Regions from separate parts of the Homo sapiens genome. Here regions 1 and 2 are each linked to region 3. The links are contacts of gene promoters, found by promoter capture Hi-C in human tissues and cell types (Jung and others, 2019). All regions are on one chromosome and are shown on one strand. The core of a region is centred on a gene start or on the middle of the fragment in contact, and the rest is flanking DNA. Distances in the headings are between cores, read along the strand shown. Region 1 has its middle 150 kb from the start of LINC02552. Region 2 has its middle 170 kb from the start of LINC02552. Region 3 holds the start of CASP4 (caspase 4).

Evidence for each region. Contacts are between HindIII fragments. The study calls those that stand out against the background at their distance.
Region 1: a contact is called between a fragment that was not itself captured here and the fragment with the promoter of CASP4 in region 3, in 1 of the 25 tissues and cell types used here (spleen).
Region 2: a contact is called between a fragment that was not itself captured here and the fragment with the promoter of CASP4 in region 3, in 1 of the 25 tissues and cell types used here (spleen).

The regions. Positions count from the first base shown.
Region 1 is chr11:104,760,676-104,763,620 of GRCh38, forward strand. No RefSeq gene overlaps it. Among named protein-coding and RNA genes, the nearest start is that of LINC02552, 150 kb to the left of the region's middle. The HindIII fragment of the contact is 3,490 bases long and covers 1-2,945 here.
Region 2 is chr11:104,782,501-104,785,200 of GRCh38, forward strand. No RefSeq gene overlaps it. Among named protein-coding and RNA genes, the nearest start is that of LINC02552, 170 kb to the left of the region's middle. The HindIII fragment of the contact is 7,314 bases long and covers 1-2,700 here.
Region 3 is chr11:104,966,991-104,969,926 of GRCh38, forward strand. It overlaps CASP4 (caspase 4), which reads right to left and starts at 1,584. Exons shown (of 9, transcript NM_001225.4): 1 at 1,529-1,584. The coding sequence starts at 1,535. LOC124902813 (a long non-coding RNA gene) reads left to right here. Exons shown (of 2, transcript XR_007062986.1): 1 at 1-1,170; 2 at 1,295-1,590. RefSeq lists an enhancer at 1,384-2,583. The HindIII fragment of the contact is 3,226 bases long and covers 58-2,936 here.

The sequences.
Region 1 (2,945 bases), core at 306-2,805, 210 kb before region 3:
TACTTTAAGTCAAAAACGGTAAAAAGAGACAAAGAAGGTCATTATATAATGACAACGAAAGCAATTCAGCAAAAGGGTATAACAATTCTAAATAAATATGCAGCAACCCTGAAGCACCCAGATATATAAAGCAAATATTATTAGATCTAAAGGGAAAAATAGACTCTAATACAATAATATTTGGGAACTTCAACATCCCACTCTTAGCACTAGAAAGATCATCTAGACAGAAAGTGAACAAAGAAACACTGGATTTAAACTGGATTTTAGACCAAATGGACCTAACAGACATCTACAAAACATTTTACCTAACAGTTGCAGAACACAGCGCATGAAACATTCTCCAGAATAGACCATATGTTAGGCAACAAAACGAGTCTCAATACATTTCAAAAAATCAAAATCATAGCAAGCTTCTTCTCAAAACTCAATGGAAAAAAAAAGAGAAATACAAGAGGAACTTCAGAAATTATACAAATACATGGAAATTAAACAATATACAACAACCACTGGGTCAGTGAGGAAATTAAAAAGAAAATTTAAAAAAATATTGAAGCAAATAAAAATGGAAACACAACATACCAAAACATAAAAGATACAGCAAAAGTAATGCTAAGGAGGGAAGTTTATAACAATAAATGCCTATCTCAAAAAAGTAGAAATATTTCAAGGAAACAATCTAACGATGCACTTCAAGAAACTATATAGAAAAGCAAGAACAAACCAAATACAAAATTAGGAGAGGAAAGAAATGATAATAAAGACCAGAGTAAAACTAAATGATAGAGAGACTAAAGAAAAAACAATGCAATGGATCAATGAAATAAAAAGTTGGTTTTTGAAGAGAATAATAAAATTGATAAACCATTAGTTTGACCCACCAAGAAGAAAAAAAAAAGAGAGAGAAAACTGAAACAAAATCAGAAAGAAAAAAATGAGACATAACAATTCATATCACCAAAATAAAAAAGATCATCAGACTATTATGAACAACTGTACGCTAACAAATTGGAAAACCTGGAGGAAATGATTAAATATCTGGACACATGCCAATCCGGCAAGATTGAATTAGGAAAAAATAAAAAACTTAAGGAGACCTATAACATAATAAGATTGAATCAGTAATAAAAAGTATTCCAACAAATTAAAGTCCAAGATTGGATGGCTTCACCACTTAATTCTACAGAACCTTTAAAGAAGATTTAATATCAATTCTTCTCAAACTTTCTGAAATACTGATTTATCTTTGTATTCCCAGAATAAGCCACATTTGATCATGAAAAAAAGAAAATGGCTTACCATTTCCAAAGCTAGAATCCTCTTACATCTTTGGACTTTGCATATGTGTGTGTGTGTGTGTGTGTGTGTGTGTGTGTGTGTTTTCCATACGCATCCACACCCCCAGGGTATTCACACAAAAAGCATAGCTTCTTTCCTCAACAAGGACCTTGAGTTTTTTTTTTCTACTAAGGCCCATCTGTGGGACAAATTAATATAAAATGTGTTAAGGTGTTTTCTTAGGATACTAAAGTTAAAAAAAAAAAAAACTCCTGGTAAAGTACTCATAATTATAACAACTTAAAGCTTTGACAAATGTCACATTCCTAGCCATAGCAATTTGTGGAAGAGTTGAGGAAATACAGGTTATTCATCTATCCTTTCCTGTATCTCTCATGTTGATAATGGAGCTAATGGAGTTTGTTTGATTTTGAACATCAACTAAGTAAACCATGGTCTGATATTTCAAAGATGGTCTTACGTCTGAGATGTTAAAATAAAATATACTATAAATCAAGGCAGTATTATTATGAGGTCAATTTTCAAGGAACAGTTTCCCAATAAAGGTTTATCAAGTAAATCTTTAAATAAGTTTTCAGGACACAGCATGCTTTGAGCTTTTCCAGTTAATTAAATATAACTAATTTTCCAGTAGAGGATTTTAAGTCAGTTAAAGCTACCTTCGGAAATATTATAGGAAAAGATTGTATTATATTAATTTATTTGAAGTATTAAAAATTGTAGATAGCGCATGATTTAAATGGAATCCTCTTCTCAGAATGTTAACCACTATAATGTCTAGAGACTACACACTTACAGTACTCTCAGGACAAACTCTGAAAAATAGACCATAAATCCCACAGGGTGGATATACCAAGTTGCATATAAAGCAAACCAAGCCCTTAAGACAGGAAACAGAACATTCAATCTCAATCCAGAGAACTTTAGAACAGATATGTTCAATTCAAAGTTTTCTTCATTGCTTGCATACTAGGCTCTGAGAAAGCCAAAAAAGTAACCAAGAAATGTATACTCAGAACCGACTTTCTGAAGCTGACAAAGTAAAATCCCAAAATGATATAATATGTAGGCATGGGATGTATTTTTGATACCCAACTCAGATTGTATAACAAATAAATGTCAAGGGTATTCCTTTCAAGCCTCACCTGGTTACAGCAAACTTAGAGACACATATAGACACAGACACCACCTATAAATATTTTTTGCTCTAACATAAGCCAAAGCTTTGGAGAAAAGGTAATGTAAGGATATTTGGAGGACTCCACAAGTACATGTAAGAAGCAACCTTGAATTTTAGGTGAATAGTAGTGCCATGTATTGGATGAGCAGGATGCATCCAGGTAGTGTGAGGCCTGAAATTTATTCAAATCAGCATTACAAATGCAAAATTAGTGATGAGAGTAAATATTTATGTAGAACAAAAATAAATCACAAGTTATAAATTTAAAAAAACAAACATTTCATAAACATGAAAAAAATAAAAAATTTTTTAACTGCTTAATTATTTTGACTGTTTATTCTTTAATTCTTCTCAGAAAAAGAACTTTGTAATATAATTTTCTCTAGAGAAAATGAATACCTAATTCTACCTCTCCTTTAGCATGGTTGAATGAAATTTGTTTTTATTACTAATTGTAGAGATCAGA
Region 2 (2,700 bases), core at 160-2,659, 180 kb before region 3:
AAGAGCCTGAGATTCTGCATTTCTATTGAGTGCCCAGGTGATGCTGTGCTGCTGGTCCCTGGTGCATACTCTTGTAGGACAGTCTTCTGGATGACCTTGGACCAATCCAGCTCTACCCTATTCTTGCAGGTAGTCCTTCAGAATAACTCTAGAATGTTCTGGGAATTAAACATGCTGAGATAGGGAAGGGCTGACTAGAAAAACTCTGACTTGTTTCCAGCCCCGCTTAGAAGCAGGATGTCCTTCAACATTTTAACCCAGCATGTCTTATTGCTCCCAGGGTATAAAACCCAAAGAGTTGAGCTGCTTTTCAGAGTCCCTGAGCTGTGGTGCAGTTGGGACATGCACAGACCAGATTTTATCTGCCTCAGGCAGCTTTCCTCAACCTAGCTCATCTTAAATCCCAGTCTTCTGTCATATACTGCTGCCTATCTGTAAGTAATAATTCCACTTCATATAACTTGTCCGTGTGTGTGTATGTGTGTGTATGGGGGGTATTCTGTCTCACCAGACTCAGACAGCTTGGTAACCAATGTACAGTGAACCTGCTTCACAGCTCGGATTAACAAAATATTATAAAGAAGAACATGATTTTCTGAGCTTCCTTTGGGCACCATACATTTTGAAAAATCTCAGCACCAAATGTTAAAATACTTTCCCTCTTGTTTCCCTCTTGTCCCAAAACCATCACTATATACTGGAATAGGAGTGAGCTGTTCACTTAAAGCCTGTTATCAATAGGTTTGTCAATGGCCTATTAGGTGGCCTGGTATAAAAGTACAGCCCAAGAAGATGTCTGTATCAAATGGGGACTGCCTCACCCAATGATATTCACTTCAGGTTTTGTGGAGATTTTGTGTCTGTGCGTGCTTCAGTGGGGAAAGACAGGAAGAGAGCGAGAGAGAATCAGCAGAGCAGAGGAGAGAGAATACATAACAAACAGTGTCTTCATTCTTAGAGGATATAAAGGCTACTTTCTACAGTTACTGCTGCATCACTGGAGTCTCTGACAGACACTAGAACTGGAGTGAGTCCTATTGTGTACTCAGTTCTTTCTGAGACCTGATATGCAATTCTTGAGACATCTTATGTTACTTGCTTATGGATCCTCACAAATAAACAAATTATTTACATATGAAATAACTGAGTATCTGAGAATTCTCAACATTCTCCCAGAAAAGCCCTAAGCTCCTCTACTGTTCAGACTCTTCAAATGTCTACTTCTGTACTTTGAAGAATTATAGTGAAAACTTTCCTCAAACTCTGTCACTGGGAGTATATAGAGAGCTAGGTGCTTTTCCAGTAATGCTTATGCACAAACAAGATTTATAATCCAGAGAATTTCACCAACTTTAAGACATTCTCGGTAGAAAAAGCAAATGGGGAAGAAGTAAAGATAGATTCTTTCATTATTATCAATGGTAACCATAATACTCAAGCTAACCAGTGGTTAGCAAACACAAAGCAGGGGGAAGAATCCCATCCTTATGTTAAGATTGTAGCTAGAGTCTTATTTAAAGACAATTTCAATTTAATGTTCAAGGAGATATCTATGAAAATTCAATTGGATTTCAAATTTCAGGAATTCATAAGGTCAGGGAAAATCTTAACAAGTGTGGTAAAGGTAAAAATATCTCAGATCCTTACCTTAAATATTGAAAAAACATGTGACATGCTGACAACATGTATGAAACTGCCCTTTCTCCACTCCCAGGACACCTTATCTCTGAAAAAAAAAATTATTTTAGCAGTGTGAAATAGACTGGGATGTTTGAAATGGAGTTTTACCAACAGAGTTTATATTTTACATCTCACAGACTGAGGGATTTCAAGGTAAGTTTATGGTATTAGGGAAGGAAAAGACATCTTGTAAAATCCACAAGGGTCATGATGGTAAGAGAAGTTGTCTGACTGAGATGAGTTTTCTAAAATCTTGATTCCCCAAACTGGTGCTCATCTGACTGTAATGAGATTTTTTTTTAAAAAAACAAAACACCTCAATATTATAAAGCATTAAATTCATACAAAGAAATAGACATTAAGATGTATATATACATCTTACATTAGGTGCATCAATGAGTACACAGGCTGGGAACAAGATTGCCCAGCTAAGTATAACTAGGGAAAATGAACTTGCCTGCTATCTTAATGACTGTCTTTTAGGAAGGGTTACTTCTTAGACCCATGTGTAACTCACAAATAGATAGGGGAAACCTATTAGAGAAAAAATATGAGGTTGCCACAGAAACGTTAAGTAAGCCCTACCTCTGGTAGGTGAGCAGTTCCAGGGTTTCCATTTTTTTCTGACAGTATATGAAAGAAAATGCTTAAAAATTTTGAAATTCTAGAATGAAGACAGCATCACGTAACTTTGTTCTCATTGCTTCAAAGTTTTGGGAGGAAACCATGGCTCTTTCATGTTCCCCATTGGCCCCTCCCCAACAATAATTTTACCACATATGCTACTGGTTTGCAGTGGTTTGATTTGTTGTTTTCTTAGAGGGAAAATGAAAATTTATCATTTCTGGAACTTCATACTTCCATTCTTTTAGGAGACTTTGTGAACTTCAAAGCCCTTTAGTTTTATTCTATTTAATCTTCATAAAAATAATTTCAGGGTTATATTTAATAATTATATATTTGTTTTGATTAAAAAGATAATAGGAAATAACTCACATATATTTATTTATAAAACCTTTC
Region 3 (2,936 bases), core at 334-2,833:
ATTATTTTTTGTTATTATAATAATCACTGAATGAAAGCTGCAGTGATAATAAAAATGGCAGGAATCAATTAGAGGAAAAAACTTATCAGGACCACAGTTTTGGTTCCAGGCAAAGTGATGTAATGCTTAAACACATTACAGGATACAATTCCTCAAGAGTTTAAGGTAATAATAGCTGTCTACATTTGGTTGTTTATAATTATCAAACCACGACTTGTTTTTGACTAGTGGCTTTCAATTTACCCTATCTTTATCTAATGATCCCTTGATTCCAGAGCTTAAGTTAAATGTTGTGAAGTTAGACATAAACCCCGGAGAGAATTGTTCTATAGGGAGAATCAAAGGAGTAAAGAAACAACAACAAGGTAATATGAGTGAAGTAAATACAGTATTTTTTTATGAAGTTGAAATCATGCTTTACAAAGATTAATGGAAAAACTGGATACACATGTTTCAAAAGGTAGAAAAAATTGTCTGAAAGTTCAGATAGTAAAAAAGAGAAAAGGCAATAGGGAGCCACTGTATGTCCCTGAGCAAAGTTAATTACATTAATAGATCACTAGCAGATAAGCAGAGAGTGTTAACTAACTGGTCAACTTTCCTAATAGAACAAACCTATGTCAAGTCAGTTTCATAAGAATTATGTGACGATCTTCAAAGGTAATAAATGCCTGCAGGGTATTTAAGATTGAGCTATTCGCGGTGAGGAAGGGGGTAGTCATCTGACTTTTTTTATATGACTACAGATTGCTGCGATATGTTATAAGGTTTAGAATTCACTGATCTAGTCCAATTTCTTCCTTTTCCTGTGAGGAGAATGAAGCCAAAGAAGCGTTATGACCTGCTGGAATACTAGCTGCCTAAGTAACTCTATCCCTTAGGCTTTTTCAGCTTCTGTGTATAAGACAGGTGACCTAAAAGTTGTGTGCAGAATGGATTGGAGAGTTAAGTCCTGGAGGGAAGGATACCAGTTAAAAACAATAACAACGGCAAAACAAAACAACTGTGATATTAACCCATGAAATATTATATTAAAGTAGTCAGTATCAGGACCAACGAGAAAGAGGAAAAAATTGAATCACTTTAAACAGACCAAGAATGTAATTCACAATAAGAGATGTCGAAGAAGATAACAATTCAGAGGCTCTCAGATCTGATTCTGCGAAAAAGGTTTGTGATCTGGGCAATTAATTTGGAATCAAAAGAAAGATTTCAGAGTGCATTTCGAAACTTCTAGAATTGTCTCACACAAATAACTTCCTCTGGCTTTCTTTACCCTCCCTTTGATTACCAGAAGCTGAAAGAAAGGAATTAACTTCTTTCTGGCTCAAAGACATCTGGAAAACATATGACCTCCGTCAATATCTCTAACACCAGGTCCCATGATTCAAACTACACACAATCAGTAAGAAAAGGAATTCAACATGTGTGCTATCGGCTCACTTCCTTTCTTGTGTTTATTTCAGAGCAATAAATCAAGTGTTTTCTAAGTTCCTACTCCCAAACTCCTAGTCAGAAAAGGACTCACCTGCCATAGGGAACAGCCTCTGTCCTTTTTTACAGCGTTGGAAAGAGCCTCAGAGTCAAAAATGAAAGTAAACTATGTATTTCCTTATTGCAAAGGGCGGAAACGTGTAATTACAGATTGTGAAACTGCTGCTCAGAATTCCAGACTCATTATCAGGAAGTGCCTTGTCATCAGCAAATTGGCATCCAATTACTGGAATTTAGTTTCTGACTTGGGGGAAAAAAATGAAAATGACAAAATATTATCCTGTGGGTTGACACCTCAGCTTGTTTCTTTTCTTGTTTCCTGTGGCCACCCAAACTTCTTCTATCCATCTGTCTCTTCTCTTCCTGATCTCTCAGTTTTTCTTTCTCTGATTACAAAGAACGACAATGACTGAAGAAGTTTAATCTAACAACTCTTTTTCATTTCCTGATAAGAATTAACCCAATAGTTCATATTTCCAGCTTTTTGGGCAGGCACTGAGCTGCAGGAGTTTTTACATAGTCCAGCAGCTCCCGGAACTCTAGTGAGGCAGGAGTCCCGTCCACTCCCATGGAAAGGGGGCTGAAGCCAGGGAGCAAAATGGCCTTGCAGCAGGTCCATTCTCACAGAAGCCTGCAAGCTTAGATCCGCTGGATTAGAATCCCCACTAGCCAGCATAGCAGCCTGGAGTACGCCAGAGATGACCGAGTTCCCCAGGGGAGGGGCGACTGCCATTACTGCAGCTCTAGTCAGCGGTTTTTCCCTACCAGTGCTAGGGAGGCTGGGCAGATTGGACTGGGCAGCAGTCTTCACAGTGCAGCACAGCCGCTGTGGCAGATCATGGCCAGACTGCTTCTTTAGGTGGGACCGGGATCCATCCCTCCTCTCCCGGCAAGAAATGCTTGCAGGAATTTCAGCAACTCCACCTAGAGTTTACAGACAGAGCTCTCATTTCCCTGGTACAGAGCACCTGCGGAGAGGGGCAGCTGCGGTCTCAGGTTCAGCCAACTTAATCTTTCCTGCCTGCTGGCTCTGAAGAGTATCAGCGATCCAGACAAGGGGGATTCCCCCAGCCCAGTGCACCATCTCTGCTAAGGGATAGCCAGACTCTTTCCTTAAGTGAGTTCCTGATCCTGGGCCTCCTGACTGGGTTAGACCATTCAACAGGGGTTGCCAGACACCTCATACAGGAGAGTTCCAACAGGCGTCAGGTCAGTGATCCTCTGGGAAGAAGCTTCCGGAGGAAGGAGGAGGCAGCACTCTTTGCTGTTCTGCAGCCTCCATTGGTGATACATAGGTGAACAGTGTCTGGAGTAGATCCTCAGCACACTGCAGCAGACCTGCAGAGGAAGGGCCTGAATGTTGGAAGAAAAACAAAAAAAAATAAAACAACAATAACACAGCATCAACAAAAAAGACCCTACAAAAATCCCATCCAAAGGTC